Linked DNA regions of Homo sapiens: all the other regions are linked to region 5. The links are contacts of gene promoters, found by promoter capture Hi-C in blood cells and fetal thymus (Javierre and others, 2016). All regions are on one chromosome and are shown on one strand. The core of a region is centred on a gene start or on the middle of the fragment in contact, and the rest is flanking DNA. Distances in the headings are between cores, read along the strand shown.

Region 1 (3,998 bases), core at 1,120-3,619, 390 kb after region 5:
ACACTGTTCTGTAGAAGCAAGGGGTTGAATTTATTGGTCACTCTACATTAAGGCTTGGCGACCTTTTTCTATAAAGGGCTAGATAGTAAATATTTCAGCTTCGTGGTCTGCGTGGTCTGTGTCACAGCTGCTAACCTCTGGTGTTGTGGAATGAAAGCAGCCATTGACATGAATGAGTTTATGAGTGAATATACCTGCGATGCAGTAAAACTTTATAAAAATAGGTAGTGGCTGTTGGTTGCCAATCCCTGCTTTAAAATGCAGAACTAGGACCACGGGGAGTCAAAGAGAACCAGATTTTTTAAACAAAGATGTTATTATGGCTGGGAGTGGTGGCTCACGCCTGTAATCCCAGGACTTCGGGAGGTTGAGGCAGGCGGATCACCGGAGGTCAGGAGTTTGAGACCAGCCTGGCCAACATGGTGAAACCCCATCTCTACGAAAAATACAAAAATTAGCTGGGTGTGGTGGCAGGTGCCTGTGATCCCAGCTACTGGGGAGGCCGAGGTGAGAGAACTGCTTGAACCCGGAAGACGGAGGTTGCAGTGAGCTGAGATTGTGCCACTGCACTCCAGCCTGCACAACAGAGCAAGACTCTGTCTAAAAAAAAAAAGTTATTATGAAAAATTTAAAACATTTACAAAAGTAGAAAGTAGTTCAACAAACCTCCCCAAAACTTGTCACCTAGATTCAACAATTAGCAGCATTTTGCCACATTTGTTTCATCAATTTTTCCCCTTTGCTAAGGTATTTTCTTTATTTCTTTATTTTTGAGACAGGGTTTTGCTCTGTCACACAGGCTGGAGTGCAGTGGCACAATTTCAGCTTACTGTAGCCTTGACCTCCTGGGCTCAAGCGATCCTCCCATCTCAGCCTCCTGAGTAGCTAGAACCACATGCACACACCACCACACCTGGCTAATTTTTTAATTTTTTTTGTAGAGTTGGGGTCTTACCATGCTGCCCAAACTGGTCTCTAACCCCTGGGTTCAAGCAGTCCTCCTATCTTAGCTTCCCAAAGTGTTGGAGTTACAGACATGAGCCACTGTGCCTGACCTGCTAAAGTATTTTAAAACAAATCTCAGACATGGGGGTCATTGTACTCCTCCTTATTCACTCTGCTATGGTTTGAATGCATCACCCAATGTTCGTGTGTTGGACACTTAATCCCCAATGCAACAGTGTTGAAAGGTGAAACCTTTTAAAGGTGATTAGGTTATGAGGGCTTTGCCCTCATGAATGGATGAATACTATTATCTCAAGAGTAGATTAGTTATTTCAGGAGTGGGTTTCCTTCCTTCCTTTCTTCTTTCTTTTTCTTTCTTTCTTTTCCTTCTTTCTTTCTTTCCTTGAGAGGGTCTTGCTCTGTTGCCCAGGCTAGGGTGCAGTGGCACGATCTTGGCTCACTGCAGCCTCTGCCTCCCGAATTCAAGCAATTCTTGTGCCTCAGCCTCCTGAGTAGCTGGGATTACAGGTGCCCACTGCCACGCCCAGCTAAGTTTTGCATTTTTAGTAGAGATGGGGTTTCACCATGTTGGGCAGTCTGGTCTTGAACTCCTGACCTCAAATGATCCACCCGATTCGGCCTCCCAAAGTACTAGGATTACAGGCGTAAGCCACGGAGCCTAGCCCAGGAGTGGGTTTCTAATTAAAGGATGAGTTTGGCCCCCTTTCCCTCTCACTCTCACATGCACTGCCTTGCACATGCAGCACAAAGGCCCTCACCAGATGCTGGTGCCATGTTCTTGGACTTCCCAGCCTCCAGAACCACAAAGCTTCTATTGATACATTACCTAGTTTGCGGTAATCTGTTATAGCAGCAGGGAACAGACAAAGACACACTCTATAGTTCTGAACAATGAGGACCTCTTATATGACCTCAACACCATTATCACACCCAATGAAATAAGTGATTCCTTGGTATTAAGATCATAGTCAAAATTGTGTAACTGTCTCAAAAATATCTTTTTACTTCTGGTCTATTTGAACGAAAATTCGAACTAGGTCCATACATGATGGTTGGTTGTTATTTCTGCTGTCTCTCTTAGTCTAATATTCCCAGCGGAAGCGCATTTTGATTAACGTATAAAAGAACACAGCAGGAAAGGCCATCTCTTGCATGTGAGGGGTGATCACTGTCAATGAAAGTGCTCCTAGACATATCAACCAAATGTAATGGGTGGACCTTTGCTGAATATTGATTTTAACAAATGAGCTGTAAAATAACATTTTTGGAGACAATCTAAGAAAATAGAACATGACCAGTATATTGGTATATTAAGGAGTAATTGTTAATTTTGTTGGCTGTGATTTGTTGGTTCTTGTGGTTACATTTAAAATACCCTTATCTATTGGTGGTATACACTGAAGTATTTCTAGATGAAACAATATGGTGTTTGGAATGTGCTTTAAAGTGTTCAGAAAGAGAACATAGCAGAAACAAGAGTAGAAAAATGTTGGTTACTTAAAATGAGTGATGGTTATATGGGGTTGATTTTCCAGTCTCTCTATTTTTTAATGTGTTTTAAATTTTCCATTATAAGAGGCCTTTAAAATAACAATAAAAAGGTGAACATTTTAATACATTTGAGATTTCTACTTTGGAAGAAAGTTTGACCAGATAGCTATGGGGGAGCTTTTAAAAACGTAACCTTGGCTGGACATGGTGGCTCATACCTGTAATCCTAGTGTTTTGGGGGGACAAGATGGGAGGATTGCTTGAGGCCAGGAGTTCAAGACCAGCCTGGGCAATATAGCGAGGTCCCATTTATAAAAAAATTTTTTTAAAATTAGCCAGGCATGGTGGTGGTGTGTGCCTGTAGTCCTAGCTACTCAGGAGGCTGAGGCAAGAGGATGGCTTGAGGCCAGAGTTTGAGGCTGCAGTGAGCTGTGATTGCATCACTGCTTTCTAGCCTGGGTGACAGAGTGAGACCTGGTCTCAAAAAACAAACAAACAAACAAAAACATAAGCTTAAGGTGGGCTCCAGGAAGCTTTATCACTACTTCGTGGCGTGTCTTTGGAATGCTGTTATATTAGGTTGGTGCAAAAGTAATTGGGTTTTTGCCATTGCTTTCAATTTCAACTAATACTCCTCTACTTTTTCTCATGCCTAGAAACAAGGGCAGCTGCGTTCCCTGCACCTGACATGTGACAGCGCCCCAGTTGGGAGCCAGGGCACCTGGAGCACCAGCTGCAGAATCAACCACCTCATCTTCCGTGGCGGCGCCCAGGTCAGCCTGGCTTCTGTCCCCTCACTGCTCCCCTGCCCCACCCTGTCTTTACTGCTCTGTGACCTCTCAGTTCCTTTTCCTCAGATCACCTTCTTGGCTACCTTTGACGTCTCCCCCAAGGCTGTCCTGGGAGACCGGCTGCTTCTGACAGCCAATGTGAGCAGGTGAGCCGGGCCAGGCCAGGGGCAGTGCCCCTCATCTCCAGCCTCACACCCCATTCTCCTCCTCTGGGGCCTCTGGCAACTGAGTCTCTCCTCTTTCTCCAGTGAGAACAACACTCCCAGGACCAGCAAGACCACCTTCCAGCTGGAGCTCCCGGTGAAGTATGCTGTCTACACTGTGGTTAGCAGGTCAGCAGGTACCCCACTGCAGGAAAAAGGGTTCTTCTCTCTGACCTCAAAAAGAAAAAAAAAAAAAGGCCTTGAAACGCTGCCACAGAGGGTGAGATAAGGTGTTTGAAACTAAAAGGTCAGGTGTTTCAGCAGACACCTTCCTTCAGCCAATGCCTTCCTCGAATTTGCTGTGTGCCAGGCAGGGTGCTGTGGTTATTTTCCATACATTCATTTGACATTCATTGAAGATTTACTGAGCCCCCATTATGTGTGATCAAAACCAGACATGAACCCTCGCCCTTGTGGGGTGTGCCTTGCTGGATGTTCTCCTGTGCCTGGTGTTTCCCACTCTCACCTGCACCTGCATGCGTGGAGGCTCCCAGCCAGGTGCACGCTCTGAGCTCGTGTGCTGGGGTGTGCCCCAGGCTCTCATACC
Region 2 (4,064 bases), core at 883-3,382, 310 kb after region 5:
TTGTTGAATAGGAATTCTTTTCCCCATTGCTTATTTTTGTCTTAGATCAGATGGTCATAGGTGTATGGCCTTATTTCTGGGCTCTCTATTCTGTTCCATTGGTCTATGTGCCTGTTTTTGTACCAGTATCATGCTGTTTTGGTTACTGTAGCCCTGTAGTATAGTTTGAAGTCAGGTAATGTGATGCCTCCTTCTGTGTTCTTTTTGCTTAGGATTGACTTGGTTATTCAGGTTCTTTTTTGATTCCATATGAATTTTAAAATAGTTTTTCCTAGTTCTGTGAAGAATGTCATTGGTAGCTTAATAGTAATAGCACTGAATCTATAAATTGCTTTGGGAAGTGTGTCCATTTTAATGATATTGATTCTTCCTATCCATGAGCATGAGATGTTTTACCATTTTTTTGGTGTCATCTCTGATTTCTTTGAACAGTGTTTTACAATTCTCACTGTACAGATCTTTCAACTCTCTGGTTAGCTGTATTCCTAGTTATTTTATTCTTTTTGTGGCAATCGTGAATAGGATTGCCTTCCTGATTTGGCTCCCAGCTCTTGTTGGTGTATAGGAGTGCTAGTGATTTTTGTACATTGATTTCGTATCCTGAAACTTTGTTGAAGTTATTTATCAGCTGAAGGAGCTCCTAGGCCAAGACTATGGGGTTTTCTAAATATAGAATCATGTTGTCTGCAAACAGGGATAGTTTGACTTTTTTACTTCCTTTCTTCCTATTTGTATGCCCTTTTTTCTTTCTTTTGCCTGATTGCTCTGGCTAGAACTTCCAATAATATGTTGAATAGGACTAGTGAGCAAAGGCATCCTTGTTTTGTGCTGGCTTTCAAGGGGAATGCTTTTGCCCATCAAGTATGATGTTGGCTGTGGGTTTGTTGTAGATGGCTCTTATTATTTTGAGGTATGTTCCTTCAATACCTAGTTTATTGAGAATTTTTAACATAAAGGGGTGTTGACTTTTATTAAAGCCTTCTCTTCATCTATTGAGATAATCATGTGGTTTTTGTCTTTAGTTCTGTTTATGTGATGAATCATATTTATTGATTTGCATATGTTGAACCAACTTTGCACCCCGGGAATGAAGCCTACCTGATCATGGTGGATTAGATTTTTGATGTGCTGCTGGATTTGGTTTGCAGGTAGTGTGTTGAGGATTTTTGCATTAGTGTTCATCAAGAATATTGGCCTGAAATTTTCTTTTTTTGTTAAGCTGACACTTTTTAGTTTGATGCCACCCCATTTGTCTGGTTTGCTTTTGTTGCCTGTGCTTTTGGGGTCATATCCAAAAAATCATTTCTCAGAAGCTTGATTGTCAAGAAGCTTTTCCCTTTGTTTTCTTCTAGTAGTTTTACAGTTTCAGGTCTTGTGTTTAAGTCTTTAATCCATTTTGAGTTGATTTTGTATATGGTTTGGGATAAAGGTCTAATTTAATCCTTTTGAATATGAATATCCAGTTCTCCCCACACCATTTGTTGAAGAGAATGTCCTTTCTCCTTTGCATATTCTTGGCACCTTTATTGAAGATCAATTGACCATAAATGCATAGTTTTATTTCTAGCCTCCCTGTTCTGTTCCATTGGTTGATGTGTCTGTTTTTATGCCACCACCTTGCTGTTATGCTTACTAGAGCTTTCTTGACACAGTATGTTTTGAGATCAGGAATTATGATGCCTCCAGTATTTTTTTTCTTGAGGATTGCTTTGGCTATTTAGGGTCTTCTGTGGTTCTACATAAATTTTAGTTTTTTTTCTATTTTTGTAAAAAAATGCCATTGGGATTTTGATAAGGATTGTACTGAATCAGAAGATTGCATTAATACTCCAGTCCATGAACATAGGATATCTTTCCATTTATTTTTGTCTTGTTTAACTTCCTTAATCAATGTTTTATAGTTTTAGTGTACATGTTTTTCACCTCTCTGGTTAAATTTAAGCTTAGGTATTTTTTTTGATGCTATTGTAAATGAGATTGTTTCTTGATTTCTTTTTCAGATAGTTCATTGTTAGTGTATAGAAGCACTATTGATTTTTCACATTGATTTTGTAACCTGTAACTTTACTGAATTTATTCATTAGTTCTAGTAGTTCTTTTTTGGTGGAGTTTTTAGGGTTTTTTAAAAATATATTTATATATATATGTTTTTATATATATATCATTTTAAGTGTAAACAGAGACAAATTTCCTTTTTTATATCTGATTTGGGTCTCTTTCATTTATTTTTCTTGCCTAATTGCTGTGACCAGGACTTCCAGTACTATGTTACATAGAAGTAGTGAGAGTGAGCATTCTTGCCTTTTTCCTCATTTTAGTGGTAAAGCTTTCAATTTTTCACCATTGAGTATGATGTTTGTTGTGGGCTTGTCGTATATGGCCTTTATCATATTGAGGTACATTCCTTCTGTAGCGAATTTATTGAGAGTTTTTATTATAAAAGAATGTTGAATTTTGTCAAATGCTTTTTTTTGCGTATATTGAGATGATCATGTGGTTTTAGTCCTTCATTCTGTTAATGTGATATGCCACATTAATTGATTTGCATATGTGGAATCATCCTTGCATCTCGCATCCCAGGGATAAATCACACTTGATCATGGTTATTATCTTTTTATCTTTTTTTTTTTTTTTTTTAACAGAGTCTCTCTGTGTTGCCCAGGCTGGAGTGCAGTGGCGTTATCTCGGCTCACTGCAAGCTCCACCTCCCAGGTTCACGCCATTCTCCTGCCTCAGCCTCTTGAGTAGCTGGGACTATAGGCGCCCGCCACCATGCCCTGCTAATTTTTTTTTTTTTGTATTTTTAGTAGAGATGGGGTTTCACCATGATTTCCAGGTTGGTCTCGAACTCCTGACCTCAGGTGATCCACACGCCCTGGCCTCCCAAAATGCTGGGATTACAGGCATGAGCCACTGCATCTGGCCGGTTATATGACTTTATATGTTTGTCAAAACTCATAAAACTATGTACTAAAAGGCTGAATTTTATTGTATGTAAACTCTTCCCCAATAAATCTGACCTAAAAAACAATCAAATTCTGTTGACTTTAGGATAAAGTATTCAGTTATCAATGAGTCTTCCCTCAATGGTGTATGAGGCAGAAATCACGTTGCAGAGCCGTGGCATGATGTCCCCTGCACATTCCCTTTCTAGAACTTGTCCCAGTTTGAAATTGCTATACACATCTCCCTGTTAATCCATTGATTACTCTCCTCTCCTCCACCTGGCTGCACTGAGGGCCCTGGAAGGCACTGTATCTCTATTACCCAGCTGTGTGCTTAGCAATAAGAAACACTTGTTTGTTGAATGAATGAATAAATGAATGAATGAATGTATGATTAAATAGGTGAATTTTATGGATGAATTCTACATATTGACCTTGAAGATATTTCTTAATATCACAACAAATATTCAAATAACAAATAGTTATTTTTAATCTAAGCCAGTTATTAGCCTTATTAGTCAGAGTGCCAACTTTGACTTTTTACCTCCCTAAAGATTCCCAATATATTGAAAGGGTGGTATTCTGTCTTCTCTTCTAGAATTTTCTATGTATTTTCCAACCCAAATTCTTCTTTGCTGCCTTAATAATCTCCCAGGAATACCACCTGGAGTAAATCCTCACTCACTGCCCATTGACTCTACTATAGGCTTATTTTTTATCTTTTAAATTATTAAAAAATATATATATACACTTAGAGATTGGGATCTTGCTCTGTTGCCCAAGCTGGAGTGCAGTGGTGACAAAGCTCACTGCAGCCTTAAACTCCTTGGCTCAAGGGATCCTCCCACTTCAGCCCCCCGAGGAGCTGGGATTACAGGCAGAAACCATTCTGCCAGGCTTATTATATAGGTTCCTTTAGCTGGCAGCACATTCAAGTGATAATTTATCATGAACCATATAGAAGATCACATCTGCTCCAGAGGGATTCCCCCAGCAGGCATAACTTTTCTTCAGAGAGAGAAAACCTCCACATCTGCTTTAGGTGGGAAGAGGTGTGTGATTACGGTCCTGTCTCTTTCAGATCGGCGCCTACTTCGGGGCCTCCCTCTGCTCCGTGGA
Region 3 (4,143 bases), core at 1,175-3,674, 360 kb after region 5:
CAGAACTGCCCTATTAGGCAGGACACGGCTCTCCAATCACTCTGGTCCCCTGACTCCACATAGCACTCTGGCCTCTGAGCCTGGGCAGTTGTTTTTGAGGTGACCTTTGAGACCCTGGCTTCCTCTGTAGCTCAGCTTCTGCTCCGGCCCACCCCTCCCTCTTGAACCTCACATTTCCGAGGTGAGCCACACTTTGGTTGACCAACACGCTTCTGAAAGTGAAAGGCATTGTGATTAGTAATTACCGGAGAAGCCCGGCTTCAACATGGCCTATCTGGGAAGGTCGGGACCTGTCCGCGTTCCCCTAACTCCCTTTCACCTCTCAACCTTTGCCTATGCTGTATCCTCTGCCCAGAACTCACTTCCTTTTCTTGTTCACCTGACCCCTGCCTCAGCTGAAGTGATCTTCCTCCAGATCCTCTTGATCCCCCAGCTGGGAGAAGTTCTGCCTCTCACTTGCTGCCATGGCAACCTGCATTTCTTTTCCTGGAGACTGTACATTCCCAGGGGACAGGAAGCCCCATCACACCCCTAGACCCTAGGACAATACCCAGAACATGTAACAAACAATTGCTGAGAGAGGGAATGAATGAATGAACAGGCCTGGGTTTCCCCAGCTTCCTATTCTCTGTGCACTCTTGAAGGAGAGACAGCTCTCAGACATCCCTTTCCCTTCATCCTAACACATCTTCAGGACCATATAGTATCCAACTGGGCCACTTCACATTTTTCTTTCTTTCTTTTTTTTTTTTTTTTTTTTGAGACAGGGTCTTTCTCTTTCATCCAGGCTGAGTGCAGTGGTGCGATCATAGCTCACTGCATACTTGATCTCCCAGGCTCAAGGGATCCTCCTGCTTCAGCCTCCTGAGTGGTTGGGACTACAGGCCCACATTACTGTGCTAGCCTAATTATTTATTTATTTTTTTGAGACGGAGTCTTGCTCTGTCATCCAGGCTGGAGTGCAATGGCACGATCTCAGCTCACTGCAACCTCCGCCTCCTGGGTTCAAGCAATTCTCCTTCCTCAGCTTCCTGAGTAGCTGGGATTATAGGCACCCGCTACCACGCCTGGCTAATTTTTGTATTTTTAGTAGAGACGGGGTTTCACCATGTTGGTCAGGCTGGTCTTGAACTCCTGACCTCGTGATTTGCCCACCTCAGCCTCCCAAAGTGCTGGCATTGCAGGTGTGAGCCACCGTGCCCAGCCAGTACTAGCCTAATTTTTAAATTTTTGTAAAGTCAGGGTCTTGCTGTGTTGCCCAGGCTGGTCTTGAGCTCCTGAGCTCAAGTGATCCTCCTGCTTCTGCCTCCCAAAGTGCTGGGATTACAGGCATGAGCCACCGCACCTGGCATACTTCACATTTTCTAGAGTCCAAGAGACTGAATATACAAAGGGATAGTGGTCAGACTAGACATAAAAATAGACATCTGCCCCCCAGCCTGCAGCAACCAGCCCAGGAAGCCTATCAATAACTAACAATCAGCCCCATGTCCAGGACTTAATCAATAACTGATGGCTTCCCTAATTTTTGTCCCTACTTCCAACTTAGGACCAACCAGACAAAGCCAAATATGTCCCCTAGTCAATTGCACAGGATGCCCGCTTCCAGTGAGCCACATACAGCTTCCCAGGCCAGCAGCTTCTACTTGGGGCATCCCTGAAGACTTCCCAGTTTCCACTACAAAGCTTTCCTACTGTACTGCCCATTTTTGAGTCTCTGCCAAAACACCAGTGATGGCCACTGACTCCCTTGCTAGAGCCAGCTTTGAATAAATAGACTTCGCCTGTTCTCATTTGGTTGGTCTTTGTGTCTTTCCGCAATCCTCTGGTCCAGCTACTGTGATAAATAGATCAATAGAGCAATTTCCTTTCTGCTTCCTCTGTGGGCATTCCCATCTTGGCGCAGACTTGAACAATTGCTAAAATCCTTCCCCTTATCTGCCCCCTATGCCCCACTGCCATTAAAGGATAAGATCCCTCTGCAGGCTGGGCTGAGTGAATGTGAACGGAATGCATTGGTTGCCAAGTTCTGCCATATACGCATTTGCCTGTTGAGACCAATCCTGCTACCATGCCAGGGCCAGGAGAGAGAAGCTGAGTGGGATGACCCTGCCTTACTCCTCCTCTTTGGAATTCTCCCTCTCTTAATTCACACAGGCATCTCCAGCCCAGCCCCTCCCAGGCACGGCCCCACTGGTTCAAGTTCTCACAGAGACCCTGGATTTCTGCCCTGTTCTGTTCTCTCACCCCACCTTCCTAGGGATTCTCTCACTCCCTCCTTTTACCCTAAAAAGGGATTAAGATGAAATCATTCTGTGGTCACTAGATGTTGTCTGTGCCTGAGACTGAGCGTGGATCCGTTTCAGAGGCCTGCTGGGTTCCCCTACACATGGAAATAAAGAAAAATCTTGAGTTTCTTCAAGGAGAATTCCAGGCACCTTGCTAATCTGGAGAAGTATATGAGCAGCCCGGTAAGCAAGAAGATAACAGTCACTTCAAACAATAGCCAAGGAAGTGAGAGCCACAAGATGTGTGGTTCCCCAGAAAACCAAGGGTTTTAACGTACATCCCTGAGTTGTTTTTCAGAAACCTGGACCCCCACTGTATTAGTCCGTTCTTGCATTGCTACAAAGAACTTCCTGAGACCGGGTAATTTATAAAGAAAGGAGATTTAATTGGCTAATGGTTCCTCAGGCATTATAAGAAGCATGGATGGGGAGGCCTCAGGAAACTTACAGTCATGGTGGAAGGCGAAGAGGAAGGAGTCATGTCTTACACGGCTGGAGAAGGAAAGAAGACAGACCAGGGCGAGGTGCTACACACTTTTAAACAACCAGATCTTGTGATGACTCACTCACTATCACGAGAACAGCAAGGGAGAAATCCGCACCCATGGTCCAATCACCTCCCACCAGGCCCCTCCTCCAACACTGCAGATTATAATCCAACATGAGATTTGAGTGGGGACACAAATCCAAACCATATCACCCCCAGATGGAAAATGCCATCTGCTGGTATGTAGGCCACTGATAAGGAGGAAGTGAAGACTGAACTCTGATCACTATTCTTTGCTCTAAATTTCTTCCTGAGGGCCCTGGAGAGACAGTCACTCCCATAGGCCAGACCTTAATATTCCTTCCTGCTGACCCCAAGTTTTTAGATGAAGCTTTCCTTCCTTAACCAATTGCAAATCAAAGAATCTTTGAACCCATGTATGACTTGTAAGCCTTGCTTCAAGATATCCTGGCTTTTTAGGCCAAACTAATGTATAACCTCCAGGTATTGGTTTATGATTTTGCCTGTAACTTCTGCTTTCCTGAAATGTACCTCGCCCTTAAAAACTCTTGCTTGGAGGGTTAACATTGGGTTAACACCAATTTCTCAGTTGCTGTGTTGATGCTCAAGGCTCACAAGTGCCCCCAATCTCTGGGGAATGGTCTTGCCTGCAGGGGAGTAGCCCCTTCTTCTGTGTGGCAGTGGGATAAGCTAGAGGAAGTGGGGAAGAATGGCTGGTGGTCAATGACTGACCCACCCGGGGAGAACCAAGGGCCACACTTCAGCCTCAAGGAAGGACCCATTCATGCTCACAGCTTCCGGGGACCAGGCTGGAGTCAGGGTCAGGGGAGAGCTCCTTGTCACTTAGCCTCTTTCCCCACTCTATCCTGCTTTCTTCTCCTTGTCTCTCCAATGATGGGCATTGGACACTGAGCAGATACAACCAGGGGTCAGTTCCTGTCTGTGGGTGTAGGACGGATGGGTGATGGGAGGGTGGATGGGTTTGTGTGTGGACAAGTGGACGGATGGAAGGATGGGGTGGAGGGTGGATGGGCAGATGGGTGGGTGGATGGGTGAACAGGTGGATGGGTGGGTGGAGGGAAGCCTCCACCTTCAAATGGAAGCCTTCAAATGGAAGGTGTGGGTGTTGTCACCAACACTGCAAACCCAAGCCCCCTTCTGTGACCACCTCTTTTCTATAATCTTTCCTCTTCTCTCCCTTCTTCCCCAGTTTCTCAGTGACTTGTCTTCACTTCCCCTTTTCTCCTGTGTGTCTATTTCACTGAATTTAAATACAAATTAAATCCATATTCTTCTCATTCTGGTGAAATCGCTTGCCAGTGTGGGAGTCTGAGCAGGGACAGCCCT
Region 4 (3,781 bases), core at 460-2,959, 330 kb after region 5:
ATTTTCTTACTATTGAGTTCTTTATGTGTTATGGATATTAACCATTTATCAGTTGTGTGGTTTGCAAATATTTTCCCCCAGTCTGTAGGTTGTCTCTTCACTCTGTTAATTATTCCTTTATTGTGCAGAAGCTTTTTAGTTTGATGCAATTCCATTTGTCTGTTTTTGTTTTTGTTGCTTGTGCTTTCAGGATCATATAAAAAAATCATTGCCCAGACCAATGTCATGAAGCTTTCCCTCTACGTTTCCTTCTAATAGTTTATAGTGTTAGATCTTACATTTAAGCCTTTAACTCACTTTTTAATTTTTTTATTTTTTAATTTAATTTTATTTTAGATGGAGTCTCTCTCTATTGCCCAGGCTGGAGTGCAGTGGCACGATCTCAGCTCACTGCAACCTCCACCTCCCGGGTCCCAGCGATTCTCCTGCCTCAGCCTCCCAAGTAGCTGGGATTACAGGCCTCCGCCACCATGCCTGGCTACTTTTTTGTATATTTAATAGAGACGGGGTTTCACCATGTTGGCCAGGCTGGTCTTGAACTCCTGATCTAAGGTAATCCACCCGCCTCAGTCTCCTAAAGTGCTGGGATTACAGGCGTGAGCCACTGCACCCGGCCCAGCACTTTTGATTTTTGTATTTGGTTTGAGATAAAGGCTCAGTTTCATTCTTTTGCCTGTGGATATCCAGTGTTCTTAACACCATTTGTTAAAAAGACTGTCCTTTCCCCATTGTATGCCCTTGGCACCTTTGTTGAAAATTAGTTGATTGTTGGCCGGGCGCGGTGGCTCATGCCTGTAATCTCAGCACTTTGGAAGGCTGAGGCGGGTGGATCATGAGGTCAGGAAATCGAGACCGTCATGGCTAACAAGGTGAAACCCCGTCTCTACTAAAAATACAAAAAATTAGCCGGGCGCGGTGGCGGGCGCCTGTAGTCCCAGCTACTCGGGAGGCTGAGGCAGGAGAATGGCGTGAACCCGGGAAGCAGAGCTTGCAGTGAGTCGAGATTGCGCCACTGCAGTCCGCAGTCCGGCCTGGGCGACAGAGCGAGACTCCGTCTCAAAAAAAAAAAAAAAAAAAAAAAAAAAAAAAAAAAAAATTAGCCAGGCATGGTGGTGGGCACCTGTAGTTCCAGCTACTCGGGAGGCTGAGGCAGGAGAATGGGGGAACCTGGGAGGAAGAGGTTGCAGTGAGCCTACATCATGCCACTGCACTCCAGCCTGGGTAACAGAGCAAGACTCCGTCTGGAAAAAAAAAAAAAAGAAAAGAAAATTAGTTGATTGTAAATGCATGGGTTCATTTCTGAGCTCTGTATTCTGTTCCATTGGTCAATGTCTCTGTTTTTATGTCAGTGTCATGCTGTTTTGCTGAGTATACCTTTGTGGTGTATTTTGATGTCAGGTAGTGTGATACCTCTACCTTTGTTGTTTATGCTCAAGATTGTCTTGGATATTTGAGGTCTTTTGTGACTTCATATTAATTTTAGTATTGTTTTTTCTATTTCTGTAAGAAATGCCATTGGGATTTTGGTAGGAATTACATTGACTCTATCGATCACTTTGAATAGTATGGACCTTTAAAAATATTCTTTCAATCCATAATATGGGATATCTTTCCATTGATTTTTGTCTTAACTTTCTTTCGTCAATGTTTTATAGTTTTAGTGTGCATATTTTTCACCTTCTTGGTTAAATTAACTTGTAAGCATTTTATTTTTTGATGCCATTGTAAATAGGATTAATTTCTTTTTCAGATAGTTTGTTGTTAGTGTATAGAAACAAATAATTTTTGTATGTTCATTTTGTATTCCATGACTTTACTAAATTTGTTTATTAAATTTGATAACTTTTTCGTAGAGTATTTATAACAAGTTTCTTATATATAAGATCATGTCAATTGCAAACAGGGACAATTTTTTTTTCTTTATTTCTAACTTGAATGCATTTCTTATCTTTTTCTTGCCCAATTGCTCTGGCTAGGACTTTCAGTACTGTGTTGAAATAGAAGTGGTGAGTGTGGGCATCCTTGCCTTGTTCCTAATTTTAGTGGTAAAATCAAATTTTCACCACTGGGTATGATGTTAACTAGACACTTTTTTTAATGTTCTTTATCATGTTGATGTAATTTCCCTGTATTTCTAGTTTGTTGAGGGTTTTTAATCATGAGTGGCTATTCCTGTGGCCTGAATGTTTGTGTCCTCCCCAGATTCATATGTTGAAGCCTAATTCCTTGTGTGATGGTATTTGTAGATGGGACCTTTGGAAGGTGTTTAGGTCATGAGAGTGTGGCCATCATTAATAGGATTAGTGCCCTTAGACAAAAGCAAAATGATGGTTGCCTATGAACCAGAAAATAGGCTCTCACCAGATATTGAATCTGCTTGCACCTTGATTTTGGATGTCACAAGTCTTCAGAACTATGAGAAATAAATTTCTATTGCTTATAACCCATCCAGTCTATGTTATTTGTTATACCAAATAAGCTAAGACAGATGTTTAGTTTTATTAAATGCTTTCTTTTCTTATTGATAAGATCATGTTATTTTTATTCCTTATTCTGTTAATGTGGTGCATCACATTTATTGATTTGCATATGTTGAGCCATCCTTGCATGCCAGGAATAAAGCCCACATGGTCATGGCGTATGACCCTTTTGTGCTATTGAATTCAGTTTGCTAGTATTTTATTTAGGATTTTGGATCTATGTTCAATAGGGAAATTGGCATGTAGTGATCTTTTCTCATGGTGTGTTTGTTGGGATTTAGTGTCAGGATAGTGCTTGCCTCATACAATAAGTTTGGAAGTATTCCCTCCTCTTCAGTTTTTTGGATGAGTTTGAGAAGAATTCATATTAATTCTTATTTAAATGTTTGGTTGGTAGAATTTGCCTGAGAAGCCACCAGGTCCTGGGCTTTTCTTTGTTAGGAGGTCTTTGATTACTGATTCAATTTCCTTACTCATTATAGATCTGTTTAAACTTTCTATTGCCTTATGATTCAGGCTTGGTAGGTTGTATATTTCTAGGAATTTATCCATTCCTTCAAGGTTATCAAGTTTGTTAACATATAATTGTTCATAGTAGTCTCTTAATGATCCTTTTTATTGCTATGGCATCAGTTGTATGTTCTTTCATTTATAATTTTACTTATCTGTTGTTTCTGTTTTTTCTCCCTTTTTCCTTGGTCTACCTAAAAGCTTGTCAGTTCTTTTTTTTTTTTTTTTTGAGATGGAGTCTCACTCTGTTGCCCAGGCTGGAGTGCAGTGGCATGATCACAGCTCACTGCATTCTCCACCTCCCAGGTTCAAGTGATTCTCCTGCCTCAGGCTCCTGAGTAGCTGGCATTACAAGCACGTGCCACCACACCTGGCTGATTTTCGTATTTTTAGTAGAGACAGGGTTTCACCATGATGGCCAGGCTGGTTTTGAACTCCTCATCTCAGGTGATCCACTTGCCTCGACATCCCAAAGTGCTGGGATTGCAGGCGTGAGCCACTGCACCTGGCCAAAGCTTGTCAATTCTATCTTTTTGAAAAATCAACTTAATTTCATTGATTTTTTTCTATTCTCTATTTGATTTATTTTTCTGTAATCTTTATTATTTTCTTCCTTCTACTAACTTTAGGTTTAGTTTGTTCTTTTATTTCTCATTTCTTGAGGTGTAAAGTTAGGTTTTGTAATTGAAATTTGTCTTTTTGTTTTAAAATTAGGTGTTTATCCCGAACTTTCCTTTAGTACTGCTTTTGCTGCCTCCCATTAAGTTTGGTATATTGTGTTTTTGTTTTCA
Region 5 (4,064 bases), core at 1,565-4,064:
AGGGAGGCTGAGGCAGGAGAATCGCTTGGACCTGGGAGGCAGAGGTTGCAGTGAGCCAAGATCGCGCCATTGCACTCCAGCCTGGGCGACAGAGCAAGACTCCGTCTCAAAAAAAAAAAAAAGAAAAGAAAAAACAGGGTCAGTGGCAGCGACGTGTGGCTGGAGGGAACAGAGAGCCCAGACCGCACGGGCTTGGGAGCCTGTGAATCCACTTGGGCCTGTGGTGAGAGAGGAGGAAAGTCCCGGAGCTTTCTTCAGGAGAGGGTCCTTCCGCAGGAGAGGGTCCTTCCGCAGGAGAGGGCCCCATGGCTAGTGAGCTCCATGTCTAGGCTGACACCAGTATCCAGGCAAAGGCAAGGGTGGCCCGACCCAAGCAGTGGCAGCAGAGGTGACAGAGAGGAGGCTTTGGGTGCAAGGTGGTTGGCTGGGCTCAGCAGTGAGAGGGTGAGGGGGACGGGAGGCCCTCTCTCGGTGCTGCTCTTAGCTGCTGGGAGTATGATGGGAGGGCCAGTGAGATGGGTGTGAGGAGGAAGAACAAATATATGGTCAAGATGAGCTCCAGTCTGGACATGTGGGGTTGCAATGCCCCAGGGACATCTAGGGGATGACGCCCAGCAGCTCCACTGAGGTGGCTTTTGGCTGGAAATGGAAGTTTGGGAGGAGTCCCCACCACATAGCTGGCGGCTGAGGCTCTGGAAGGGAGTGAGGTCACCCGAGGAGGGCGTGCAGAGGCTCCTCACTGTCTTCTGGGAAGTAAGGGTTGCTCCTCACACGGAGGTGCGGGGCCTGACATGGGCGGCCTGCCATTTGCATTAGCCGGTGGCAGCCAACAGGTGCCTGTTTTGGAGAGAGGTCCAGGGAGGAGAGATGAGCAGGGTGCCGTTGGTGACATGGCCAGTCATTTCAGGAGCTGCCCCAACCCCAGACTTGCCCCAGCAGTCCGGGACCCCACTGTGACCAGGCAGATGCTCGAAGGAGTCAGTGGCTCTCTTACCCAGTGCAGATTTCCCTGGAGTTCCCTGCGGGTGACTTAGAATGGCCACCAGAGGCTTAGGATGCTGCCCCAAAGAGGGAGGGCTCCTGGAAGCAGAGTCGAGAGAGTCAGTGCCGGGTTAGCGGGAGCTGGAGGCAGAGCTGCAGCTCCAGGCCTGGTGGGCGTGGACCTGGGGTGCTGGCTGGCAGGCGTGCTCAGGGGCAGGAAGTGGGGGACTCTTCCCTGACCATCGCATCTCACCCTGGCAGATGGTGGCCGACATGCGGGAGAAGCGCTACGTGCAGGAGGGCATTGGCAGCAGCTACCTGTTCCGGGTGGACCACGACACCATCATCGATGCCACCAAGTGTGGCAACCTGGCCAGATTCATCAACCACTGCTGCACGGTGCGCCAGGGGCCAGCCGGGGCAGGAGTTGGGGGTCGGTGGGGGTGGCCACGGCTCACACGCCCTTCCATCCGCAGCCTAACTGCTACGCCAAGGTCATCACCATCGAGTCCCAGAAGAAGATCGTGATCTACTCCAAGCAGCCCATTGGCGTGGACGAGGAGATCACCTACGACTACAAGTTCCCACTGGAAGACAACAAGATCCCGTGTCTGTGTGGCACAGAGAGCTGCCGGGGCTCCCTAAACTGAGGTGGGGCAGGATGGGTGCCCACACCCCTATTTATTCCCCCTGGTGCCCTGAGCTCCCAGCACCCCCCCAGCCTTAGTGGGCTCAGCAGGGCCCACATGCCCCCATCTCCAAGCGTGGGGTTGGGGGCCCCAAGCCCAGCGAGGGAGCCTCAGTCCCTGGAGGCAGCTTCTGCCTCTCCTGTCACCCCTGCCCACCACCCCCTGATTGTTTTTCTTTGCGGAGAAGAAGCTGTAAATGTTTTGTAGCAGCCAGCAGCTGTTTCCTGTGGAAACCTGGGGTGCCGGCCTGTACAGATTCTGTCCTGGGGGGCTACACAGTCCTCTTGCTTTGTGTTAATGGGGACTTCCCCTTACGCCCTGCGTGTACCCCTCCCCAGTTTAGGGGTCTCTGGGGCAGTGGCCATGTTCTCCCCCTGGGGGGGCTCTGCACCCCCAGTCCTGGGGACTCCGTGCCTGGAACCCTGCCTCATCTGTTCCTGCCAGACCCTGAGGGTCACCCTTCCACCCTGGTGTCACTCCCCGGCTCAGCCAGGCCAGGATGGCGGGGTGGGTCCCTTTTGCTGGGCTGGACTGTACATATGTTAATAGCGCAAACCCGACGCCACATTTTTATAATTGTGATTAAACTTTATTGTACAAAAGTGTTTGGTCGGTGTATTTGGGCAGGAGCGAGGGGTTGGGGGTAGAGGGCACGGAGGGTTGTGCAAGTTGAAGAGAGGGAAAAGTGGGTACCTGAAGTGTGGGGCAGGTAAAGGGGCCTTCAGGCAAGAGCCCAGACCTGCAGAGACAGTCCGAGACTGTCTCGGACCCCCTGACAGGCTGCAGCAGCCGCACCCGCACCAGGAATACCCCACCAGTGCCCGCCAGGGTGGTGCCAAGGTCAGGCCTCCCCTTCCTACAATCACAGCTGCAGCTGGACCTCCGGCCTCCTGGGAAGCCCAGCAGGAGGGAAGGCCTGAGGTCACACTGTGGGATGAGGTCACCGCTGGCTCCACCCACAGCCCCAGACCCCTTCAGCCCACTCTGCAAGTTCGAGCTTCATCCCCACCAAGTTCTCCGCTGGACCCAGATGCCAGTGGAGCACAGAGCGGCCGCCAGGGGGCGCCTTGGGGCAAGAGTGGTGGGGGTTGTGGCTGGGCGGGTCTCTGTTCCTGGAATGGGGCAGGAGGGAGAAGGAGGAGCCAGCGGAAGGACGGTGTGCGGGCCGGCCAGCCCTGGACGAAAGAAGAGGGCCCCTCCAGGCCAGTCTGGGCACCCTGGGATAGCGGCTGCAGGTAGGCAGAGGCGCTGCCAGTGCCCAGGTGGCCTTTCCCTCCATCCGGCCCTTCCCACCTTCCTATAACCTTCCCTCCACCTCCCTCAACTCCTGGCCTCCCCACCCTTTTACTGCCTTCAAATCTCTCTCCCTAAACCCTGACCCCTTCCTGCACCCCAAGCCCGCCCCTCTCTCCGTAACTCAGCCATCAGCAGGGGCAGACGGCAGGTGGCCTGGTTGCTGCAGCTCCCAGGATCAGCTCTGCCCTCCCCGCAAACGCCAGCCTCGTCACCGCTCCAGGGCACCTCCAGCAGTAACAGGTGGTTGCAGCAGGTGGCAGCCAGCCCCTGGATGAGCCAAGGTCTCTTCCCCAGCCAGGCATGGCCGACTCTGCACAGGCCCAGAAGCTGGTGTACCTGGTCACAGGGGGCTGTGGCTTCCTGGGAGAGCACGTGGTGCGAATGCTGCTGCAGCGGGAGCCCCGGCTCGGGGAGCTGCGGGTCTTTGACCAACACCTGGGTCCCTGGCTGGAGGAGCTGAAGACAGGTTCTTGTTGGGGGAGCTTGTGGTGGAGAGGGTGTGGACGCTTCCCCAACCCTTCCCAAGCTGGGATCCCCACCCCTGCAGTGGAACAGATGATGCTGGTTTCTGTCCACATGGATGGGTCGAGTGAGTCACATTGGGAACGTGACTCCAGGGTGGAAGATGAACCCAGCCTCTGGCCTCTGGCCCCAGCTCTGACATGGCCTGTGTCCTCCAACCCCGGCCAGGGCCTGTGAGGGTGACTGCCATCCAGGGGGACGTGACCCAGGCCCATGAGGTGGCAGCAGCTGTGGCCGGAGCCCATGTGGTCATCCACACGGCTGGGCTGGTAGACGTGTTTGGCAGGGCCAGTCCCAAGACCATCCATGAGGTCAACGTGCAGGGTGAGGAGCTCTGGACACTCCTGGCCATCTTGCCTGTTTGTTCCCCACTCTGTCTTTGGCCTTGACCTCCGGTGACTCCCCTGGGACAAGTTGTCCTATTGACAGCCCTGCCCCCGCCTCCCCTGACCTGTCATGGTTTTCCCTGGACCTGGGATGGGGAGGAGGAAGATGCAGAGAGGGAAGAAGCTGCAGCTTGGATACGCCTCCTCCTCTGCCAGGTACCCGGAACGTGATCGAGGCTTGTGTGCAGAC
Region 6 (3,968 bases), core at 858-3,357, 410 kb after region 5:
TCTTTAACTCCCAGCCTCCCCGCCCACCAAATATTCCTCAGTCCTGGCTTCTTATCATGGATTCAACCTGGATGTGGAGGAGCCTACGATCTTCCAGGAGGATGCAGGCGGCTTTGGGCAGAGCGTGGTGCAGTTCGGTGGATCTCGGTAGGCCCCACTCACCCTCCTTCCCCAACCTCCACTACATCAAGTCCTGTGGATGGGTACACGTGGGTTACCCCAGGGAGGTGTCCTGGAGGAAGGCCAGCAGGGGTGAGAAGTCTTCCCTTGGCTCCTTGGAGGCCCTGACATCAGCACCTATTATTCTCAATCCCAGGAAAGGCCACAAAACTCTAGACAAGACCCTACCTTACCTCGGGAGGGAAGCCTTGAACCTGCCTCCCAGGCAGGGCCCACTTCTTGGGGCCAGTATGGTCACACAGGGCCCACACTCATTAACTTTGGAGTTTAATGTTCTGCCCTTGACCTCTTGAAATTCCTGATTATTTTTATTTTTATTTTTACTCCAGCTCTGTTACCCAGGCTGGAGTGCAGTGGTGCAATCACAGCTTACTGCAGCCTCAAACTCTCGGGCACAAGTGATCCTCTCACCTCAGCCTCCTGAATAGCTGGGACCACAGGTGCATGCCATCATGCCTGTTTTTTGTTTTGTTTTGTTTTACTTTTTACAGAGATGGAGTCTTGCTATGTTGTCCAGACTGGCTGAACTCCTGGGCTCAAGCAATCCTCCTGCCTTGGCCTCCCAAAGTGCTGGGATTACAGGTGTGAGCCACCCTGTCTTGCCAATTCTTAAAAATTTTATCTGTGCATTTGTGTTTTGCAAGTAAAGAATGATGGCAGGGCTGGGCACCATGGCTCACGCCTATAATCCCAACGCTTTGGGAGGCTGAGGCGGGCAGATCATCTGAGGCCAGGAGTTTGAGACCAGTTTGGCCAACACAGCAAAACCCCATCTCTACTAAAAATGCAAAAAAAATTAGCCGGGCATGGTGGCAGGCATCTGTAATCCCAGCTACTTGGGAGGCTGAGGCAGGAGAATCGCTTGAACCTGGGAGGTGGAGGTTGCAGTGAGCCGAGATCGTGCCACTTTACTCCAGCCTAGGTGACAGAGTGAGACTCCGTCAAAAAAAAAAAGTCATGGGAGAAGGGAGATGCACTGGGGGTTTGGAGCCTTAGCTCAGCAGCAGCCCCACCTCCCACCGCCTCCTGAAGGGTGGTGAAGGGGTATCAGCTGCTGGCTCCCCCACCCATGTGGGAGCAATGACCGCTGCTACCTTCCGCCCCTGGCATGAGCTGGGTAAAGTCAGTTAGGGGCGCTCACTCTGGGAGTACCCCGAGGGAGTGGGACACTACATAGCAAATAAAAAACGTCAGGACAGGTTGAGGAAGAGAGCAGAAGAAAGGTAAGAGCCCCCCAACCCCAAGAGACCCCACAGTTTTATTTCAAATTGGGACCCACAAATTATGAACCTGCCCCCACTTCCAGGAGCTCACATTCTCCTGTCCCAGAGAGTTCAAGTCACAATGTGACACAGGTGTCACCAAGGTCTGGGGGGCGCAGGCAGGGAGAGAGCAGACCCAGGAGGGTTCCATGGAGGAAGTGGTGCTGGCAGTGAGCCCCAGTGGACAGGAAGGCTCAGTTGGTCACGAGGAGCTATAAGAGGTCACCGAGCTCCAACCGCGCACCCCTCTCCCTTCCTCATGTGACTGGCAGTCTGGGGGGATGGAAGCAAGCACCAGGCACCAGGCTTTTGTTTTTCTTTATTTGGAAATGTGGTCAACTGAGGTGCACAAATCTGAAAGACCCAATCTGATAAAGGATACACATGTGCGTGCCTGGGTGAGCCCCACCTAGGTCAGCTGCTCCAGTGTCAAATCCCACAGGCACAGGGCTGCCGTGGACCCCTTCTCATCACCCAACATCCCCAGAGAACCCCTGGTCAGACTTCTGTCACCATCAGTTTTTTGGGCCACATTTTAAAAAAAGAATACATTGGCTGAGTGCAGTGGCTCATGCCTATAATCCTAGAACTTTGGGAGGCTGAGGCGGGTGGATCACCTAAGGTCAAGAGTTCAAGACCAGCCTGACCAATATGGTGAAACCCTGTCTCTACTAAAAAATACAAAAATTAGCCTGGCGTGATGGCAGGTGCCTGTAATCCCAGCTAGCTGGGTGACTGAAATAGGAGATTTGCTTGAACCTGGGAGGTGGAGGTTGCAGTGAGCTGAGATCACGCCATTGCACTCCAACCTGGGTGACAGAGTGAAACTCTGTCTCAAAAAACATATGGGTTGATGGGTTACACTAAAGTTTTGCTCATCGTTTGTATCAGCAGGTTCCAAACTGCTACCTCTCTAGCCAATGCTCAGATTTTCTTCACAAAGCCTTAGGCATCCCCTGAATCATGATGCACAGGGATTGTAGCTTTCTGTAAAGGAGCGGCACCTAGAAGGAACCCTCACATGGCCATTTAATGAAGCCTTGCTTGGCGCATTAAAATACACCAGTATCTGTCTGCTTTTCTCACAGACAGGAGATTGTGGGTAGTGAGAAAACATTTCCAAAATTAAAAAACTTTCCCACTCAGGGAGTTTTGCAAATAAACCCTTGACTCTACATAACTATAGATATAGTTATGGATCCTAGTACACTGCTTTACATTGGCCAATTGAAATTGCTTATACAATATTTAAATTGGTCCAATGAATTACAGAATCAACTATTTGTTTTGAAAGCACATGTCTTCAGGAAATTGTTCCAATTAACTTGAGATGATCTTATTTCTTGGGTGGTTCAAAATAATGGCAACTCAGAAACGCAATGTGCTTACCCATGATTGGGAAATGCCATTTTGGTCTTTAAATAGGTTTTTTTTTTTTTTTTTTTTTTTTTTTTTGGTGAATGTTAAAAAGAAATTTCTAAACATAAATACACACATACGTACTTATGCACACTCAAAACCAAATAAACCCCAGCATGGCCCCTGGGCATCTGTGAGTTACACTTGGGCCCTGATTTCTGAATATTCTGCCAAGTGGCAAATGCCAGGAATTTCCCCCACAGAGTCTCGCTTCCCCATGGAGGGACACTTCCTCACCCCCAAGTGCCCGCTGCTCCCACCCCTCCTGTGGCTGCAGTGACATGGCCATGGTTGTGTCTCCAGACTCGTGGTGGGAGCACCCCTGGAGGTGGTGGCGGCCAACCAGACGGGACGGCTGTATGACTGCGCAGCTGCCACCGGCATGTGCCAGCCCATCCCGCTGCACAGTGAGTGACCACCTGGGAATTGGGCCCCTCAACCCTCCTGGACCCAACTGTGCCCCCGCTTAGCTTCCAGTCCAGACCTTCCCCGCAAATGAGTGTGTGCTGTGAGTGAGACCCCGCGTGTCTGCCCTTGCAGTCCGCCCTGAGGCCGTGAACATGTCCTTGGGCCTGACCCTGGCAGCCTCCACCAACGGCTCCCGGCTCCTGGTGAGTGAGTGTCTTGGGCCACGGGGGGGTGGGGTGGGGCGGGGGGTGTTGTTGGGGAGGAGGCTGGGGCTGGGAGTGAAGGAGGAGGGGCTGCTAGGGACTCCTGGCTCACAGGCTTCTGCCTCCAGGCCTGTGGCCCGACCCTGCACAGAGTCTGTGGGGAGAACTCATACTCAAAGGGTTCCTGCCTCCTGCTGGGCTCGCGCTGGGAGATCATCCAGACAGTCCCCGACGCCACGCCAGGTAGGTCCCTGGCAGGCCATGGTTCCCTGTGGAGCACATGCTGGCACTGAGGGTGAGCAGGCGTGAGGCCTGTGTCTGGGCCCCTGTGCCCTCCCTGGAGGGCCGAGTGTGGCTAGGAGAGAAGCCAGGAGAAGAGGGTGGCTCAGGCAGGAGCCCTGCTGCTCCAGGGTAGAAGTTCTTTGCAGGGTTTTTCTTTATATTTTTTTCTTTTTAAGACAGGGTCCCTGCCAGGCACAGTGGCTCAGGCCTGTAA
Region 7 (3,969 bases), core at 599-3,098, 460 kb after region 5:
CACCTCGTAAAGGCCTCATCTCTTAATATTGTTACAATGGCAATTAAATTTCAACATGAGTTGGAGGGGATGTTCAAACCATAGCACTCTCAATAAAAAATTATACAATAGGCAGGGCGAGGTAGTTCCCTCCTATAATCCCAGCACTTTGGGAAGCCAAGGTGGGCGGATTACCTGAGGCAAGGAGTTCGAGACCAGCCCAGCCAACATGGCAGAACACTGTCTCTACTAAAAATACAAAAATTAGCTGGGCATAGTGACACACACCTCTAATCCCAGCTACTCGAGAGGCTGAGGCACAAGAATCCCTTGAACCTGGGAGGCAGAGGTTGCAGTGGGTTGCGATTGTGTCTCTGCACTCCAGCCTCAGTGACAGAGGGAGACTCTGTCTCAAAAAAAAAAAAATTAAAAATTAAAAAAATATATGTATATATACAAGGTAGATATTGAATATCTGCATGCAAAAGAATGAATTTGGATCCCTATATCACAATACATATAAAAGTTAACTCAAATTGAATCATAGAACTAAAAGTTAGGACTCTTAGAATCTTTATAACTTTGAATTAAGCAATGCTTTCTTAGATATGACACCAAAAGCACAAGCAACAAAAGAAAAAAATACAGAAACTGAACACCATCAAAATTGAAACCTCTTGCGCTTCATATGACATTATTCTTTAATTTTTTTCTTTTTCTTTCCAAATACCCAGACGTCAGGGAGATTCACAGGACATTATTAAGAAAAAGAGAAGATAAAAAAGAAAAGGAGAAGATAACCCACAGAGCAGGTAAAAATCTTTGCTAATCATATATCTGGGAAGGGATTTGTACCTAGACTGTATAAAGAACTATTGCAACTCAATGATAAAAAAGACAAATAATCCAATTTAAAAATGGAATTAGGCTGGGCACGGTGGCTCACGCCTGTAATCCCAGCACTTTGGGAGGCTGAGGTGGGCGGATCACCTGAGGTCAGGAGTTTGAGAACAGTCTGGACAACATGGTGAAACCCTGTCTCTACTAAAAGTACAAAAATTAGCCAGGCATGGTGGCATGTGCCTGTAATCCCAGCTACTCGGGAGGCTGAGACAGGAGAATCACTTGAACCCGGGAGGCAGAGGTCACAGTGAGAAGAGATCACGCCACTGCACTCCAGCCTAGGCGAGAGAGCAAGACTCAGTCTCAAAAAACAAAAAAAGGAAAGAAAGAAAGAAATCAGTCGAGTGTGGTGGCCTGCACCTCTAGTCCCAGCTACTCGGAAGGCTGAGAATCACTTGAACCATGGAGGTGGAGGCTGCAGTAAGCCGAAATTGTGCCACTGCACTCCTGGGCAACAGAGGAGTCCTTGTCTCAAGAAAAAGAAAGAAAAAGAAAAAAAATTAAATGGGCAAATGACTTGAATAGACAGTTCAAAGAAGTTATATAAATGGCCAATAATTACATGAAAAGATCCTCAACATCATTAGTCCTCAGAAAAATGCAAATCAAAACTACAACGAGGTGCCACATCATACATATTAGGATGGTGATAATAAAAAAGACAGGTAATTACGCCAGTAGTGGCGGCTCATGCCTGTAATCCCATCACTTTGAGAGGCTGAGGTGGGCGAATCACCTGGGCTCAGGAGTTCGAGACCAGCCTGGTGAACATGGTGAAACCTAGTCTGTACTAAAAACACACAAAAAATTAGCCAGGCATGGTGGCGGGTGCCTGTAGTCCCAGCTACTCAGGAGGCTGAGGCAGGAGAATCACTTGAACCTGGCAGGTGAAGGCTGAAGTGAGCTGAGATCACGCCACTGCACTCCAGCCTGGGAAACAGATGGAGACTCTATCTCAAATAATAATAACATTATTATTATTTTTAAAAATAATATTTAAAAAACATTAAAATTTTTTTTTTAAATAATATTTTTAAAAATGATATTTTTTAAATGATAATATTTACAGGCAGTGGCTCACACTTGTAATCCCAGCACTTTGGGAGGCCGAGGTGGGCGGATCACCTGAGCTCAGGAGTTTGAGACCAGCCTGGCCAACTTGGTGAAACCCTGTCTCTACTAAAAATACAAACATTTGCTGGGCGTGGTGACAGGCGCCTATAATCCCAGTCACTTGGGAGGCTGAGGCAGGAGAATCACTTGAACCTGGGAGGCGTAGGTTGCAGTGAGCTGAGATCACGCCACTGCACTCCAGCCTGGTGACAGAGTGAGATTCCGACTCAAAAAAAAAAAAGCTGAAAAGACAGTTAATTAACAAGTTTTTGTGAGAATGTGGAGAGATTGGAACCCTCACACATGGCTGGTTGGAACGTAAAATCATTCATTAACTTTGGAAAATGGTCTGGCAGTTCCTCAGATGTTTAAACATAGAGTTATATGATCCAGCAATTTCCCTTCTAGATATGTAACCAAAAGAAATAAAAGCATATTCCACAAAAACCTTGTACGTGAGTATTCATAGCAGCATTATTCATAATAGCCCGAGTGGAAACAACCCAAATGTCTGTCAACTGATGATTGAAGAAAGTGGCATATCCATGTCTTAGTCTGTTTTGTGCTGCATCGTAGAATGCCTAAGGCTGGATAATTTATAAAGAATAGAAATATCTTTCTTTCAGTTCTAGAGGTTGGGAAGTCGAAGGTCAAGGGCCCTGCATCTGGTGAGGGCCTTCTTTCTGCCTCATCCCACAGCAGAAAGCGGAAGGGCAAGACAGTGCAAGAGAGGGGGTGGGTGGGGGCAGAACCCATCCATTTATCTATCAGCTGTCCACTCCCTTGATAACTAACCTACTCATGCAATAATGCCATTAATCCATTCATGAGGGAAGAGCTCACATAACCTAATCACTTCTTAAAGTTCCCACCTCTCAACAGTTGAATTGGAGGTTAAGTTTCCAACACATGAACTTTAGGGGACAGGTTCAAACCACAGCAATCCATAAAGTGAAACTGTATTATTCCTAATAAAAAGAAATGAGATACTACAGTGTGGATGAACCTTGATAACATTATGCTATATGAAAGAAGCCAGACACGAATGACCACACATTGTATGATTCCATTTATATGACATGTCCAGAATAGGTCATCTGTAGAGATAAGATGTAGATTAGTGGTTGCCTAGGGTTGGGGTATAGGGGGTGTTATGGACTGAATGTTTGTATCGCCCCCAAATTTATACATTGTTTAACCCCCAGTGTGACTGTATTTGAAGACAGGGACTGGCTGGGCATGGTGCCTCACGCCTGTAATCCCTGAACTTTGGGAGGTCAAGGCAAGCAGATCACCTGAGGTCAGGAGTTCAAGACCAGCCTGGCCAACAAGGTGAAACACCGTCTCTACTAAAAATTCCAAAAAATTAGCCAGGTGTGGTGGCAGATGTCTGTAATCTCAGCTACTTGGGAGGCTGAGGCAGGCGAATGGCTTGAACCCAGGAGATGGATGTTGCAGTGAGCCGAGACCACGCCATTGCACTGCAGCCTGGGCAAAAGCAACGAAACTCCCTCTCAAAAAAAAAAAAAAAAAAAAAAGATAGGGCCTGTGAGGAGGTGACCTTAAATAAGGTAATCAAGATGAGGGACTTCCAAGAGGAGTGCTGGCAATTAAGAGAGCTGGGGCCAGGTGGGGTGGCTCACACATGTAATCCAGCACTTTGAGAGGCCAAGGTGGGAGGATCCCTCGAGCCTAGGAGTTCGAGACCAGCCTGGGCAACATAACAAGACCTTGCCTCTATTTATAAATTCAATTTATTATTATTTTTTTTAAAAAAGGGAGAGAACTGCGAGGAAATAAAAAGAGAAAGGGCCAAGGCCAGGTGCACTGGCTCACACCTGTAATCCCAGCACTTTGGGAGGCCGAGGCAGGCGGATCACGAGGTCAGGAGATCGAGACCATCCTGGCTAACACGGTGAAACCCCGTCTCTACTAAAAATACCAACAAAACAAAACAAAACAAAACAAAACAAA

The links. Contacts are between HindIII fragments. The CHiCAGO score rates a contact against its expected background, and 5 or more counts as called.
Region 1: a fragment that was not itself captured here is called in contact with the fragment with the promoter of HSD3B7 in region 5 in 10 of 17 cell types (naive CD8 T cells, naive B cells, monocytes and 7 more); the score reaches 12.5 in naive CD8 T cells.
Region 2: a contact is called between a fragment that was not itself captured here and the fragment with the promoter of HSD3B7 in region 5, in 1 of 17 cell types (monocytes). The highest score is 5.2, in monocytes.
Region 3: a fragment that was not itself captured here is called in contact with the fragment with the promoter of HSD3B7 in region 5 in 8 of 17 cell types (total B cells, naive B cells, erythroblasts and 5 more); the score reaches 7.9 in total B cells.
Region 4: a contact is called between a fragment that was not itself captured here and the fragment with the promoter of HSD3B7 in region 5, in 2 of 17 cell types (monocytes and naive CD8 T cells). The highest score is 6.1, in monocytes.
Region 6: a fragment that was not itself captured here is called in contact with the fragment with the promoter of HSD3B7 in region 5 in 3 of 17 cell types (neutrophils, monocytes and naive B cells); the score reaches 10.8 in neutrophils.
Region 7: a contact is called between a fragment that was not itself captured here and the fragment with the promoter of HSD3B7 in region 5, in 14 of 17 cell types (naive CD4 T cells, neutrophils, naive CD8 T cells and 11 more). The highest score is 12.2, in naive CD4 T cells.

Annotation. Positions count from the first base shown.
Region 1 is chr16:31,373,686-31,377,683 of GRCh38, forward strand. ITGAX (integrin subunit alpha X) reads left to right here. Exons shown (of 30, transcript NM_000887.5): 21 at 3,114-3,230; 22 at 3,315-3,394; 23 at 3,497-3,580. Among named protein-coding and RNA genes, the nearest start is that of ITGAD, 18 kb to the right of the region's middle. The HindIII fragment of the contact is 1,195 bases long and covers 1,773-2,967 here.
Region 2 is chr16:31,293,488-31,297,551 of GRCh38, forward strand. ITGAM (integrin subunit alpha M) reads left to right here. Exons shown (of 30, transcript NM_000632.4): 13 at 4,027-4,064. Among named protein-coding and RNA genes, the nearest start is that of ITGAM, 36 kb to the left of the region's middle. The HindIII fragment of the contact is 384 bases long and covers 1,941-2,324 here.
Region 3 is chr16:31,344,708-31,348,850 of GRCh38, forward strand. No RefSeq gene overlaps it. Among named protein-coding and RNA genes, the nearest start is that of ITGAX, 8.4 kb to the right of the region's middle. The HindIII fragment of the contact is 1,480 bases long and covers 1,685-3,164 here.
Region 4 is chr16:31,315,143-31,318,923 of GRCh38, forward strand. The region is part of intron 14 of ITGAM (integrin subunit alpha M); the gene reads left to right. Among named protein-coding and RNA genes, the nearest start is that of ITGAX, 38 kb to the right of the region's middle. The HindIII fragment of the contact is 2,960 bases long and covers 230-3,189 here.
Region 5 is chr16:30,982,393-30,986,456 of GRCh38, forward strand. HSD3B7 (hydroxy-delta-5-steroid dehydrogenase, 3 beta- and steroid delta-isomerase 7) reads left to right here and starts at 2,815. Exons shown (of 7, transcript NM_025193.4): 1 at 2,815-2,905; 2 at 3,261-3,432; 3 at 3,657-3,812; 4 at 4,031-4,064. The coding sequence starts at 3,267. It overlaps SETD1A (SET domain containing 1A, histone lysine methyltransferase), which reads left to right. Exons shown (of 19, transcript NM_014712.3): 18 at 1,243-1,380; 19 at 1,458-2,272. The coding sequence ends at 1,631. RefSeq lists an enhancer at 2,284-2,796. The HindIII fragment of the contact is 29,451 bases long and covers 1-4,064 here.
Region 6 is chr16:31,394,195-31,398,162 of GRCh38, forward strand. It overlaps ITGAD (integrin subunit alpha D), which reads left to right. Exons shown (of 30, transcript NM_005353.3): 2 at 42-147; 3 at 3,165-3,268; 4 at 3,402-3,472; 5 at 3,601-3,715. Among named protein-coding and RNA genes, the nearest start is that of ITGAD, 2.8 kb to the left of the region's middle. The HindIII fragment of the contact is 5,767 bases long and covers 1-3,968 here.
Region 7 is chr16:31,446,484-31,450,452 of GRCh38, forward strand. No RefSeq gene overlaps it. Among named protein-coding and RNA genes, the nearest start is that of ZNF843, 5.7 kb to the left of the region's middle. The HindIII fragment of the contact is 6,267 bases long and covers 1-3,969 here.